Linked DNA regions of Homo sapiens: all the other regions are linked to region 1. Evidence: promoter capture Hi-C in 16 types of primary human blood cells and fetal thymus (Javierre and others, 2016). All regions are on one chromosome and are shown on one strand. Each heading gives the region's core, a stretch centred on a gene start or on the middle of the fragment in contact. The rest is flanking DNA. Distances are from core to core; before and after follow the strand shown.

Region 1 (4,640 bases), core at 1,162-3,661:
GGGAAGAAATGGCTCCCTGCTGGCCAAATGCTCTCCTGCTGGACTTGGCTATAACCTAATTGAAAATGTTAACATATTTGGCTGGGTGCGGTGGCTCACGCCTGTAATCCCAGCACTTTGGGAGGCAGAGGTGAGTGGATCACTTGAGGTCCGGAGTTCGAGAGCAGCCTGGCCAACACGGTGAAACCCTGTCTCCATTAACAATACAAAAGTTAGCCAGGCGCAGTGGCTCACGCCTGTAATCCCAGCACTTTGGGAGGCTGAGGCGGGCGGATCACAAGGTCAGGAGATCGAGACCATCCTGGCTAACACAGTGAAACCCCGTCTCTCCTAAAAATACAAAAAATTAGCCGGGTGTGGTGGCGGGCACCTGTAGTCCCAGCTACTCGGGAGGCTGAGGCAGGAGAATGGCATGAACCCGGGAGGCGGAGCTTGCAGTGAGCCGAGATTGTGCCACTGCACTCCAGCCTGGGCGACGGAGCAAGACTCTGTCTCAAAAAAAAAAAAAAAAGTTAACTGGGTGTGGTGGCTCGTGCCTGTAGTCCCAGCTACTGGGAAGGCTGAGGCAGGAGAATCACTTGAACACCGGAGGTGGAGGTTACAGTGAGCTGAGATTGCGCCACTGCACTCCAGCCTGGGCGACAGAGTGAGACTCTGTCTCAAAAAAAAAAAAAAAAAGAAAAAGAATGTGTGTTAACCTGAAGACGGGTCAGCAATGAAAGTCTAGTAAAGGGAGAGTCCCTGAGGCCAGTCCAAGCACCATCCTGGAAAGCCGTCACATTCAGAGTAGTCCAGGAGTGCTGGCAAGGCTGCCAATAGCAAAGAGGTGGGGGTAGAAGATTGTTGCCAAGAAGAGTTTTCTGGACCCATTGGCATGGCTGCTTATTGCAGATGGCCAGATGCCATTAAAGATACAAATCCTCCAGTAATGTCATTGTGCATTTATACATTGACATTATGATTCTGATTTGGCTTCAGGGAGAGAATGTACTAGACATGTAGATATGAGTTTTCAGTCTGAGTGACAGTTAAATATTTATGATAAATTAATATTTATGTATTATGGCTTTATATTTCAGAAGATTGTGAACTTTGTTGGCATGAATGATTATTTCCAAGATCCAGCTTTGGAGTCTGCAAAGCCCAGGCCCGTGTCCCTGTCAGAGGTAAATTCAACCTGGCAAATGTTACCTGTGTGGTCTCTTCGGACATAGCCTGTCAGCCTTCTCCATGTATATATATCAGCATTCTGAAGCCTCCACATTTAGTAAGGCAGAATCACACGCTATTAGATCTGAGAGGGACCTGATGCAGTATCTAGTCCAAGCCCCCCTTTTCCAGATGAGAAACCTGAAGTTCACAGATGTGGAGAACTTGACCAAGAGTTGACAGCTTGTTAGCAGTGAGAACCCAGGTCCAAGCCCAGGTCAGTGCTGTCTGGAAGGTCCTGACCTTATCTGGCATAGACACATTCAGGATGTATTTCCCCAAATCACCATATTCCCTCTCACTCCTTCGGCAGGGATGGTCATCAAGTGTCACCAAGTGGCATGTCTTGGATCTCTGAGTCCAGGTTATTGATGCAAGAGCAAAGGAAAGATGAAGGGAAAAGCTGAAACAATTTACTTCTTCCTGCCCGGGAAGTACAAGTGTGTGGAGGGGAGGGGAGGGAGGTAGAGGAGAGTAAGAGAAAATGGAGAAGGGTATTGAGAGGATCCTTTTTGAGTCATTGGAGCAAATTAATGGAAGGGGAACTGTCCGGTTGGTCAGGTCTGTAAAAATCCCTCAACTTCCCCAGTACTTCTGCTACCACCAACTGAATGGACAGGATGAGGAGGTGTCCACTGTAAATAAGTAACCTGGACTGTTTTGTGAGGAAAGAGATGGAAGGAATCCAGGGGTCTCTGACTCTGGCAGTTCAGGATAGAAACCACACCTTGTTATCTCTGCTTTCTCTAAAATGTCCAGGTAAACTTGGAATAGGAGCACTCTGGATTTGGGAGACTGTTGTGAAAAAGGAGTTTGAGAGCAGTGGAGAAGGCAAGGGAGGTGTTTTGAAGGCAGCAAAAGCCCCTGAAATTATTGGGTCCTGCCATACTGAGACTGGGGTGCTAAGGAAGGGGCTGCCACATTCCCCATCTCCCTGTCTTCCCACTTGTCTTCCTAACATCACTGTTTTTTTCTTTAGTTCCTTCTATCTTTTACTAGGAAGGGCCTGGGAAGGGCTGGGTGCCATTTCCAGCTGTTCTTGTGACAACCTCCGGCCCTTTCATCATTTCTCCCCGTGCCCTGACTCCCTCCCCATCCTCTTTTCTCCTCTCCCCACCAATGGTCTCTCCCGATGCTCAGTGGCGCGGGGTAGGGGGGGGCGGAGGCGGGGCTGGAGTGGTGGAAGGGGGGTGGCAGGTCTGCATTGCCGCTTCCCTGGTGCCGGGAGCAGTCGCCGCTGCCGCCTCCGCCCGCGGCCGGGACCCCCGTCCTCGCCCGGGACTCCTTACCCGGGGAACCTAGACCAGGTGAGACCCCTTTCTCAGTCGCTCACCTCCTCCCCGCCCCTGGCAGAAGCATCTTTGCCTTGCCTTGCAGCCATTTTATCCTCCGATGCTTTGCTTATGGGGAGGGTGACGATCCCCTCTCTAGGGGTGAGGGGGGTTGGTGGGTTGGTGGTGGTTTGGGGATGGACATTTATTTCAGTTGTGCTCTTCAGGACACACACACACACACGCATATGTATAATATTGGTGAATGGGGAGGAGGGGTGTTTTTCTCTACCTTAACCAAGTCCCCACTATCCCCTTCGGAGATTAACGTGGTGGTGGGGTTGTGAGGTGGGATGAGGTTCCCTCAAACTCCTATCCCCTCCTCACCTTGACGTCCCCCCACCCCCAGGATGAATGATAAATGACCTTGGCTGGGGCTGGAGAATGGATGCTGCCTCAGTGTGCACGCCTGGACTTGGGTGGGTGGGGGGCAGGGGAAGAAGGGCAGGTGAAGGATGGAGGGAAGGGGAGTGAAGAATGGAAATACTGGGGAGACAGAGATGTAGAGCCGCCAGGTGTTGGGGGCATGGATGGCGGGGGCTGGCGGCAGTTGCTCCGGGGTGGGGGGAAGGGATGTTGAGTGAAGGTGGACACTTGTCTAGCAGCAGGACCAAGGGTGGAGGAGGTGCTCAGAGCAGGGATTTAGTCAGTTCTGGGGGCTTTTCCCTTATTCCGGAGCTGAGGCAAGATGGGGTGTGGGGGGGTCGCTGCAAATGCTGATAGGGGCGGTCTCTATGTCTGTGCATGCGGAGGTCTCTCCCTGCGTCCCCCTCTCTGCCTCTCCGTATTCCTCAGTGTGCATTCTCAGCTGACACCCTCATTTTTATCCCTCAGAACTGTGGGTGCTCCTATCTTCCTAACCTTGGTAGGATGTGGGGAGGGGAGGCGCAGTCTTGATGGTCCTGGGTGGGGGCTGAAGTTCGATGACCGGGCTGTCATGGGGAAGGGGTGCTCCCGCACCTCCCACATTCTACCCCCGCCCCCGCGGACGTTTTGATAAGTGATTGCTTTTTAATGACCTTGTCACCTGAGCTAGGAAGGCCTGGGGATCTGGGTGGACCCCAAAGTCAGGGGCTTTGACTGGGAGGGTGGGGGGTTCTGGACCCAGGGCTGGATGAGCTGTTCTGAAAGAAAGCATTTGCTCTGGAGTCCCCTGCCTGTCTCCACCCTCTGCAGAAAATCTCCTGGGCACATTTTTTCCTGTCAGGTGAAGTCAGCCAGCCTAGGACCTTGTAACCCTGAACCTTGTCTCCTTTAACCTCCACCTCTCCAAGTCTTGTCTCACTCCCCCAGGCTTAGCCACCCTGTGCTGTTTTGGGGGCTAAAAATAGCACCACTTCCTCACCAGCTCAAAGAATTTGTCTTCTTTCTTTCTCTCCTGACCTCCTGGGCTTGCTGGCCCTGAGGAAGCTGGCTGTTGAGACCTCATATCCTGCTGTGGTTGTGGAAGGCTTCCCTGCCCTACGTGCCCCTCTCAGGGGGAAATAGGGTCAACAAACATAGAGTATGGCTCCTGGTGGGTCCTGCCTCCTTCAGGGCTGGAGGGGAGATCCTGGTTAGGAAAGAGAGGAAAGCTAGCAAATTGCCATGCGCTGAGGGGATTCCGCAGTTCCAGCTCTTTCATGGGGGATGGTTGGGCCCTGAACCATGAAGAAAAGGTGACATAGGGGTCACTGCTTCTGGTCACCGTGGTCCACTGCTTACATCTGTCCTGAGGGGATAAGGCGCTGCTTGCCAGTGCTTCTCTCTGAACCACATAGCATTGCTTACCGTCTTCTACCAGGGCGTGTGTGTGTGTGTGCGTGTGTGTGTGTGTGTGTGTGTTTTAATGAAGGCCCTGGATGGGTGGGAGCACCGGAGGCAGGATATTTTTAGGGGGATGATTTCTGATCAGAATCTAGGCCTGCTTCCTCTGCTCCTATGAAGGAAGGGGGCTATCCCATGCCTTCCTCTGGAGAATGTCTTTTTTGGGGGGACACCCAAACCCCCTTTATTCTACATCCGCCTCCTACGCAATGCGGTGTTTGTGGACTCCTTCTTCCTTGACTCCTGGAGGAGGAGCAGAAAGGATTAAGGGGGATTAGGAAGGGAGGCCCTGGA
Region 2 (4,640 bases), core at 600-3,099, 290 kb before region 1:
TTTGTAGAGGTCACTGTGTGAGATTATTAACATTTTTCTTCTTTTAATTAGGACAACTAAATTATAGTTTGTTAGAAGTGTCTTAAACTATTGAAGAAAAACTGTCATCAAATTATACTTTTTTTGTGTGTGTGACAGAGTCTCGCTCTGTTGCCAGGCTGGAGTGCAGTAGCACGATTTCGGCTCATTGCAACCTCCGCCTCCTGAGTTCAAGCGATTCTCCTGCCTCAGCCTCCAGAGTAGCTGGGACTACAGGCGCGCGCCAACACATGGTGAAACCCCATCTCTATTAAACATACAAAAATTATACGTTTTATTGGCATCAGTCACTTTTCAGAGAATATTTGCTTCACTTTTTCTTGTGCAACCAAAAGATGTCTTTGATCCTATGGAAGGAGAAGAGAATAATTAAATTTGAAATCTTGTATACACAATTTTTATTAAAATGTCAAAGGACAGTTACATGTTTCTATAGAATTAGCATATGTATATATATACGCTCTATCTATCTATCTATCTATCTATCTATCTATCTATCTATCTATCTATCTAGAGAGACAGGGTCTGTTACCCAGGGTGGAGTGCAGTGGCTATTCACAAGCACGATCCTGCTACTGATCCGCACGGGAGTTTTGACCTGCTCTATTTCTGACCTTGGCCAGTTTACCCCTCCCCTTAGGCAACCTCGTGGTCCCCTGTTCCTGGGAGGTCACCATATTGGTGCCGAACTTAGTGCGGACACGCGATCGGTATAGCACACTACAGCCCAGAACTCCTGGGCTCAAGCCGTCTCCTGCCTCAGCCTCCCAAGTAGCTGGGACTACAGGCACGGGACACCGCGCCTGGCAAAGTTAACAAATATTTAACTGCAGTAAAACTAATGTCAGTAGTTTCTCAGGCATTTTCATTGGCTTTTACAAAGTCACAAAATTGGGTAAAATGAGGGCCATTTACTTTATTTAAAAAAAAGAGGCCGAGCGCTGTGGCTCACGCCTGTAATCCCAACACTTTGGGACGCCGAGGCAGGTGGATCACAAGGTCAGGAGTTGGAGAGCAGCCTGGCCAATATGGTGAAACCTCGTCTCTACTAAAAAATACAAAAATTAGCCGGGCATGGTGGCACGTGCCTGTAATCCCAGCTACTCAGGAGGCTGAGGCAGGAGAATCGCTTGAACCTGGGAGGTGGAGCTTGCAGTGAGCCAAGATCGCGCCACTGCACTCTGGCCTGGGCAACAGAGTGAGACTCTGTCTCAAAAAAAGAAAAAAAAAAAAAAAAGAGATGAGAATATTCTTGGATTTTAAGAAGCCAAGATTTTCTAGTGGGTAATAGCATTTCTCAGAAAAGACTTTTTCTTTTAACAGACTAAATATTTAGGAAAACTTTTTTTCTTATATTGAGGGATTGTATTTTCAGCATTGTTTCGATGTTGCCGCAATATTTTAAAAAATACTTATTAGCAGGTGGAGATGATGTGAATTTGTTGTTTACAACCCGTAGGATATTGAAGAGCTACCTGCTGAGAGAGGAGCTGCTACCATCTGGTCTCTGCTATGAGGCCAAAGCACTACATTGGTCCCATGATAAACCTACTTTTCTTTTTGTGTCATTTATTTTCCTTTCCACTGCTATTCTATATCAGCCTTGAGGTTGCTATTGGAGTTGAGGGACAAATAAGAGGTCATATAATGTAGGCCATCGCATAATGATGAAACATCAATTCTGTGGTCTGTCTCTAAGGCTCTGTCCTTGATAATAAAATACAGTGTGCTGTAATGGTTATCAAGTTTCCACTCCATATTATTAGGTTATTAGCTATTAATTAGATATCACTTGCCATTTTTACTTTACATGACTGTAAATAACTGCTGTCTTTCAGATCTTCATGTACTCAATCTTTACAAGCGGTTTGCAATTAACATATTAAGAAAAAAACCATGGAGAATTATGTGCAAATCCTTTTCAAGGCAAGCAGTCTTACAGCTATGATCAAAGGCATAAAATGTAGAATATTTAACAAACTTTTAAAATCCTTTGTTTAAGGAACATAAGTGATAGGAAAACAAATATGAATGATACCAACTCTATCCCTTGAAAAACAGCCTAAACCCAAGATTATAAACCAAGAGCGAAATTGCAGGCAGAGAAATGGCTGAGCTGACAGCTTGTGCCCAGAAAGCTCAGAAGATGCCAAAACTTTGATTTGCTCACTTCAGTGAAGGCGTGATCCTTCATTTTGCAGGGCTATAGAAGGAGATGTATTTGAGTTTGTAAATACAAAATCGATCAATATGTGAGGGACAGACTTGTGCCGTGAAAATTCACCAAAGTCAGATTTCTAAATCAAGTTGTCAATTTATTAATTTACAGGGAGAATGTATATTTACATTGTTTATGGTATTATTGTTCAGTGTTCTAAATTGGCGCTCTTTAATAGACATATAATTCTGTCAAAAATGCAAGTTGGTGGAGTGCGGTGGCTCTCACCTATAATCCCAGCACTTTGGGAGGCCAAGGCGGGTGGATCACCTGAGGTCAGGAGTTGGAGACCAGCCTGGCCAACATGGTGAAACCCTGTCTCTACTAAAAACACAAAAATTAGCCAGGCATGGTGGTGGGTGTCTGTAATCCCAGTTACTCGGGAGGCTGAGGTAGGAGAATTGTTTGTGCCTGGGAGGCAGAGGCTGCAGTAAGCCAAGATCGAGCCACTCTACTCCAGCCTGGGTGACAGAATGAGACTCTGTCTCAAGAAATAAATAAATAAATAAAATAAAAATGCAAGTCACAGATGTATTTAGAATTTTCTAGTAGACATATTTAAAAAACTAAAAAGAAACAGGTAAAATTAATTTTAATGTATTTTAATTAACCCAACATATTCAAAATATTATACTTTCTACATGTAATCAATGTAAAAAATCATTAGTAAGATGTTTTGTATTTTTTTCATGCAAAGTCTTCCAAATCTGGGATGGATTTTATGCTTACAGCAAATCTCAATTCAGATAGCCACTTTTCTTTCTTTCTTTTTTTTTTTAACAGAGTTTTATTTTTATTTAGTTACTTTCTTCTTCTTTTTTTTCTTTTTATAAAGATAGGATCTCACCATGTTGCCCAGGCTGGTCTCAAACTCCTGGGCTCAAGTGATCCTCCCTCCTTGGCCTCCCAAAGTGCCTGGATTAGCCACATTTCAAGTGCAGTAGTCATGTTGCTAGGTGAAGGTCTCGTGTATCCCTTCTAGGAAAGGTAACTGAGAGGCCAAGTGCACAATCAGAATCCTCTCAGGTGAGCATAGAAGTGGAGGAGAGGGTGCTAGAGGGATATTTTATGTGTTTGACAAGTATGAGGAACCTACCCTGATCCACACTATTCTTTCTAGAGGTTTTAGTATTTGTTGTGTTCAGTTTGTCTGACTTTGGCAGCAGTACGCTCAGCACTATTAGACTAATGCTGCCAAATTCTTGCTTCCTTTGATTCTATGTAAATTACTTTATTCTATTAACATACTTTCTATTTTTCTTTCTTTCCTTTTTTTTTTTTTGAGACAGAGTCTCGCTCTGTTGCCCAGGCTGGAGTGCAGTGGTGTGATCTCGGCTCACTGCAACCTCCGCCTCTCAGGGTCAAGCAATTTTTGTGCCTCAGCCACCCGGGTAGCTGGGATTCCACCACCCTGGCTAATGTTTATATTTTTAGTAGAGGTGGGGTTTTGCCATGTTGGCCAGGCTGGTCACAAACTCCTGGCCTCAAGTGATCCGCCCACCTTGGCCTCCCAAAGTGCTGGGATTGCAGGTGTGAGCCACCGTGCCCGGCCACAGTTTTTAAATATAATAATTATACGAATCATTTTTTATATTAGATGATAATATTTCTCCTTTTTGTCTTTTTAAAATTTTTTAAATTTTATTTATTTATTTATTTATTTATTTATTGAGATGGAGTCTTGCTCTGTCACCCAGGCTGGACTGCAGTGGTGTGATCTCAGCTCACTGCAACCTCCGCCTCCTGGGTTCAAGCAATTCTCCTGCCTCAGCCTCCTGAGTAGCTGGGAATACAGGCATGCACCACCACGCTGGGATAATTTTTGTATTTTTAGTACAGATGAGGTTTCACCATGTTGGTCAGGCTGGTCTCAAACTCCTGACCTTGCTAACTGCCCGTCTTGGCCTCCCAAAGTGCTGGGATTGCAGGTGTGAGCCACTGCGCCCGGCCACTTTATTTATTTATTGAGACGGAATTCACTCTTGTTGCCTAGGCTGGAGTGCAGTGGCGTGATCTCGGCTCACTGCAACCTCTGCCTCCCGGGTTCAAGTGACTCTTCTGCCTCAGCCTCCCGAGTAGCTGGGATTACAGGCGCCCACCACCACGCCTGGCTAATTTTTGTATTTTTAGTAGAGATGGGATTTCACTGTGTTGGCCAGGCTGGTCTTGAGCTCCTGCATGCACCTGTAGTCCCAGCTACTTGGGAGGCTGAGGCAGGAGAATCACTTGAACTGGGGAGGCAGAGGTTACAGTGAGTTGAGATGGCACCACTGCACTCCTGGGTGACAGAGTGAGACTCTGTCTTTAAAAGAAAAAAGACCTACCAAATGAGAGAAGCAACGGCTGTTTATTCTGAGCTTGCTTTAGCAAGGGAGTCAGCTAC
Region 3 (4,640 bases), core at 758-3,257, 270 kb before region 1:
CCATCTCGGGAAAAAAAAAGAAAAAGGATTCTTGAAGAGTGTCCAAATAATACCTTGCAGGAAAATGAAGAGTGTATGGATGCTGCAATCAAGAGGAATTCTGGGAACTGCGAGATGAGAATGAGGCCTAACAGGTGCCATGCAGCGAGCTTTCGCAGTGGCAGCTTCCACTGTTAAAATGATAGTGGAACAAGATGAGACTAAATTGTCAGTGATTTCTCTCTATATTATGGGGATAGACCTGTTTTCTTCATTTATCAAGCTCTGCTCTCTCCTACAGACATACCTTGCTTTTTAACAACTGCCGAAAAGGTCAGCTTTCTGCTAAAGGGTCACATCAAAATAGCATTGTTAACGTTACCATTTTTGTCTTCTGAATCAGATTCTATTTTCTGAATCAAATTTCAGCCTGTTTGACAGCCAGTGTGGTTGGGCTGCTGGACTTTATCTCTTGAGATTTGATAGGTAGCTGCTTAGAATTTTCCACATATTTAAATGCATGTGTCATGTCTACTAAATGTGTCTGGTATTGCTAGAGTGGTGCTCCTTATTGTGTGTATATTTGCCCTGGATTTTAATTCTGGAATACATTATTCACTTAAAGGTAAATAGCAAGTATATTTGAGCAAAAACATTTTTATTAGCAACCATAAAAAGGGTGCATACAGTTTTATAGCCAACATGATAATATGAGATGTAATTGGACAGGCACGGTGGCTCACGCTTGTAATCCCAGCACTTTGGGAGGCCGAGGCGGGTGGATCACGAGGTCAGGAGATCGAGACCATCCTGGCTAACATGGTGAAACCCTGTCTCTACTAAAAAAAAAAAAACAAAAAACAAGACAAAAATTAAGCCGGCGTGGTGGTGGGTGCCTGTAGTCCCAGCTACTTGGGAGGCTGAGGCAGGAGAATGGCGTGAACCCAGGAGGCGGAGCTTGCAGTGAGCCGAGATCGCCCCACTGCACTCCAGCCTGGGCGACAGGGCAAGACTCCATCTAAAAAAAAAAATACATATATATATGAGATGTAATTATTTAAATGCCACAATTCTGACTGAACGGGATAGTCAAAGTACTAAAAGACTAATAAAATGCTCCTGTATTAGTTTCATATTGTTGCTATAACAAATTACCACAAATGAAGCCACTTAACACAAATTAATTTTCTTACAGTTTTAGAGGTTAGATGATGGAAATGGATCTTACGGTGCTAAAATCAAGGTGTCCACAGGGCTGTGTTCCTTCTGCGGGCTCTAGGGGAGAATCTGTTCTTTGGCTTTTCCAGCTTCTAGATGCTGCCCGAATTCCTTGGCTCATGGCCCCGCTTCATCTCAAAGCTAACTATTGCACCACGCTGACCTCCACTTCCAGCATCTCTGGCTCTGACTTTCCCGTTTCCCTCTTTTACTTATAAGGACTCTTGTGATTACGCTGGGCCCAGGATAATCTCCCCGCCTCAAAATCCTTAACTTCATCACACCTGCAAAATCCCTTTTGTCCTGTAAGGTAACATATTCACTCTGAGGATTAGGACATGGACTTAGGGTGAGGAGGGATTATTCTGCCTGCCACAGTTCCTTAATATAAAAACCTAAGGAATTTTCCTTCACCTAAGGGATTTAAAGTGCTAAGAAATTAGCAATGAATATATAAACAAATTTCTACCATAATTTGTTTTTTAGAAAAACTTCTGGATGTTTTAAATAATTGCATATTCCAGAATAGCTTGACTTTTTTATATAACTGAAAAAAGATCCTTTTAATATCTGGTGACATATACCTCTCCTCTCTCTGTGATCAGAATGATATATTTCCAGATTTTGTGTTTTGCTTTAGCTTTTTACTTCCAAGTCATATGACTTTTCTAGGTTATAGTTTCAAATATATATATTCTAAATCATTTGGTTGCCCTTTAAAGATGAAAGCATAAGAACTATTTGCACTTTGCTTTATTGTATGATTAGAAGACTTTCTAATTGCATTAATCAGAATGGGGCCAGGTGCGGTGGCTCACACCTGTAATCCCAGCACTTTGGGAGGCCGAGGCTGGTGGATGGCTTGAGCCCAGGAGTTCAAGACCAGCCTGGGCAACATGGTAAAACCTGTCTCTACCAAATCCATCCCACCCTGTGCCCCCTCCAAAATTAGCAGGGTGAGTTGGCACGTGCCTGTAGTCTCAGGTACTCTGGAGGCTGAGACAGGAGGATTGCTTGAGCTCAGGAGGCAGAGGTTGCAGTGAGCTGAGATCATGTTGCTGTACTCCAGCCTGGTGACAAAGCACGACCCTGTTTCAAAAGAAAAAAAAAGAGAGAGAGAGAGAAAGAGAATAGGATGAACCCAGTAAAAACAGAGTCAGTAATGCCACAGCCTCTGAAGAAGAGATCGGGCAGTGATCACAAACCGCTCTGGGTAGCTGTATTAGTCAGGGTTCTCTAAAGGGACAGAACTAATGGGAGAATAAAGGGGAGTTTATTAACTCACATGATCACAAGGTCCCACAATAGGCCATCTGCAGGCTGAGGAGTAAGGAGAGCCAGTCCGAGTTCCAAAACTGAAGAACTTGGAGTCTGATGTTCGAGGGCAGGAAGCAGCCAGCACGGGAGGAAGATGTAGGTTGGGAGGCTAGGCCAGTCTCTCTTTTCACATTTTTCTGCCTGCTTATATTCTAGCTGCACTGGCAGCTGATTAGGGTGCCAGATTAAGGGTGGATCTGCCGTTCCCGGCCCACTGACTCAAATGTTAATCTCTTTTTGCAACACCCTCACGGACACACCCAGGATCAATACTTTGCGTCCTTCAATCCAATCAAGTTGACACTCAGTATTAACCGTTACAGTAGCTAAAACAGATTTCCATTCCAACGGTCTGCTAATAAGAGCTTGACGATTGTAGAGCTCTATGACTTTCAATTTCACTAAATGATAAAAAAAACTAGGTCTGAAAATGTTAATAAAGAATGAAATATTTTTAATTATACAAATGTATTTAGGCCGGGCATGCTGGCTAATGTCTGTAATACCAGCACTTTGGGAGGCCAAGGAGGGCAAATCACTTGAGCTCTGGAGTTCAAGACCAGCCTGGGCAATATGGTGAAACCCCGTCTCTACTAAAATTACAAAAATTAGCCAGGCGTGGTGGTGCGTGCCTGTAGTCCCTGTTACTCTGGAGGCTGAGGCACGAGAATCACTTGAGCCCGGGAGGCAGGGAGGTTGCAGTGAGCAGAGGTTGCACCACTGCACTCTAGCCTGGGCGACAGAGCGAGACTCTGTCTCAAAAAAAAAAATTATTATTTTTTGAGACAGAAAAAAATTATTATTTTTTTGATACAGGTTGCTCACTGCAACCTCCGCCTCCCAGACTCAAATGATTCTCGTGCCTCAGCCTCCCCAGAAACTGGGATTACAGGCATGCACCACCAAGCCTGGCTAATTTTTTGTATTTTTAATAGAGACGGGGTTTCACCATGTTGCCCAGGCTGGTCGCAAACTCCTGGCCTCAAGTAATCCACCTGTCTCAGTCTCCCAAACTGCTGGGATTACAGGCATGAACCACTGCTCCCGGCCCGATTATTCTTATTTTTTGTTTAGTTCTTCAGTGAAATCAACTAAGTCAGTGAGAAATTTGATGAGGGGAGGAAGTTAGTGACAGTCCAAACTCCTTTTTTATTTTTTAAATATCAAGTTCTCAGTAATTTGCAAGTGTTAAAATTCATAGAACTAGCCAGGCACGGTGGCTCACACCTGTAATCCCAGCACTTTGGAAGGCTGAGGCAGGCGGATCACGAGGTCAAGAGATCATGACCATCCTGGCCAACATGGTGAAACCCCGTCTCTATTAAAAACACAAAAATTAGCCGGGTGTGGTGGCGGACGTCTGTAATCCCAGCTACTTGGGAGGCTGAGGCAGGAGAATTGCTTGAACCCGGGAGACGGAGGTTGCAGTGAGCTGAGATCGTGCCACTGCACTCCAGCCTGGGAGACAGAGTGAGACTCCGTCTGGAAAAAAAAAATCACAGAACCAAGGTTTATAAGCATAATGCACTTGTATGAAGAATAATCATTCATAGCAGATTGGAATAAACCCTCCTAAATATCTTTCTAAAAGCCAGATTTGAAACTTATTTTGATATTTGATAAGAATTTTCATATTAGGCTGACAATCAATACAGGTTCCTGGTTGGCTGGCATTATTAATGCTGAGCCTTAACGCTTTGCTAGAGCCCCTCTCCTTTTTTTTTTTTTGAGACAGAGTCTTGCTCTGTTGCCCAGGCTGGAGTGCAGTGGGGCAATCTTGGCTCACTGCAGCCTCCCTGCCCCCTAGGCTCAAGGGATTCTCATGCCTTAGCCTCCAGAATAGCTGGGACTACAAGCACCTGCCACTGAACCCGGCTAATTTTGTATTTTTAGTAGAGATGGGGTTTTGCCATGTTGCCAAGGCTGGTCTTGAACTCCTGCCCACCTCAGCCTCCCAAAGTGCCGGGATTACAGGCACGAGCCACCACATCTGGCCAGAGCCCTTTTTTTGAGTACAAATGCTCAGACCTCCCTTCTTCCTTTTCCCTACCACATTCTCTGCATTTGGCTAGAAGGGCAAGCTTTGTTTGTGATGCACTTTGAAAGGAAGTGAAGAGGTCTAAGAG

Evidence for each region. The method cuts DNA at HindIII sites, captures the fragments that hold promoters and counts their contacts. A CHiCAGO score of 5 or more calls a contact.
Region 2: a contact is called between a fragment that was not itself captured here and the fragment with the promoter of SV2A in region 1, in 1 of 17 cell types (neutrophils). The highest score is 5.3, in neutrophils.
Region 3: a fragment that was not itself captured here is called in contact with the fragment with the promoter of SV2A in region 1 in 6 of 17 cell types (naive B cells, total B cells, activated CD4 T cells and 3 more); the score reaches 7.7 in naive B cells.

Annotation. Positions count from the first base shown.
Region 1 is chr1:149,915,615-149,920,254 of GRCh38, reverse strand. SV2A (synaptic vesicle glycoprotein 2A) reads left to right here and starts at 2,411. Exons shown (of 13, transcript NM_014849.5): 1 at 2,411-2,516. RefSeq lists a silencer at 2,498-2,567. The HindIII fragment of the contact is 16,072 bases long and covers 1-4,640 here.
Region 2 is chr1:150,207,839-150,212,478 of GRCh38, reverse strand. It overlaps the pseudogene RN7SL480P. Among named protein-coding and RNA genes, the nearest start is that of ANP32E, 26 kb to the left of the region's middle. The HindIII fragment of the contact is 5,688 bases long and covers 1-4,640 here.
Region 3 is chr1:150,188,025-150,192,664 of GRCh38, reverse strand. No RefSeq gene overlaps it. Among named protein-coding and RNA genes, the nearest start is that of LINC02988, 30 kb to the right of the region's middle. The HindIII fragment of the contact is 5,180 bases long and covers 1-4,597 here.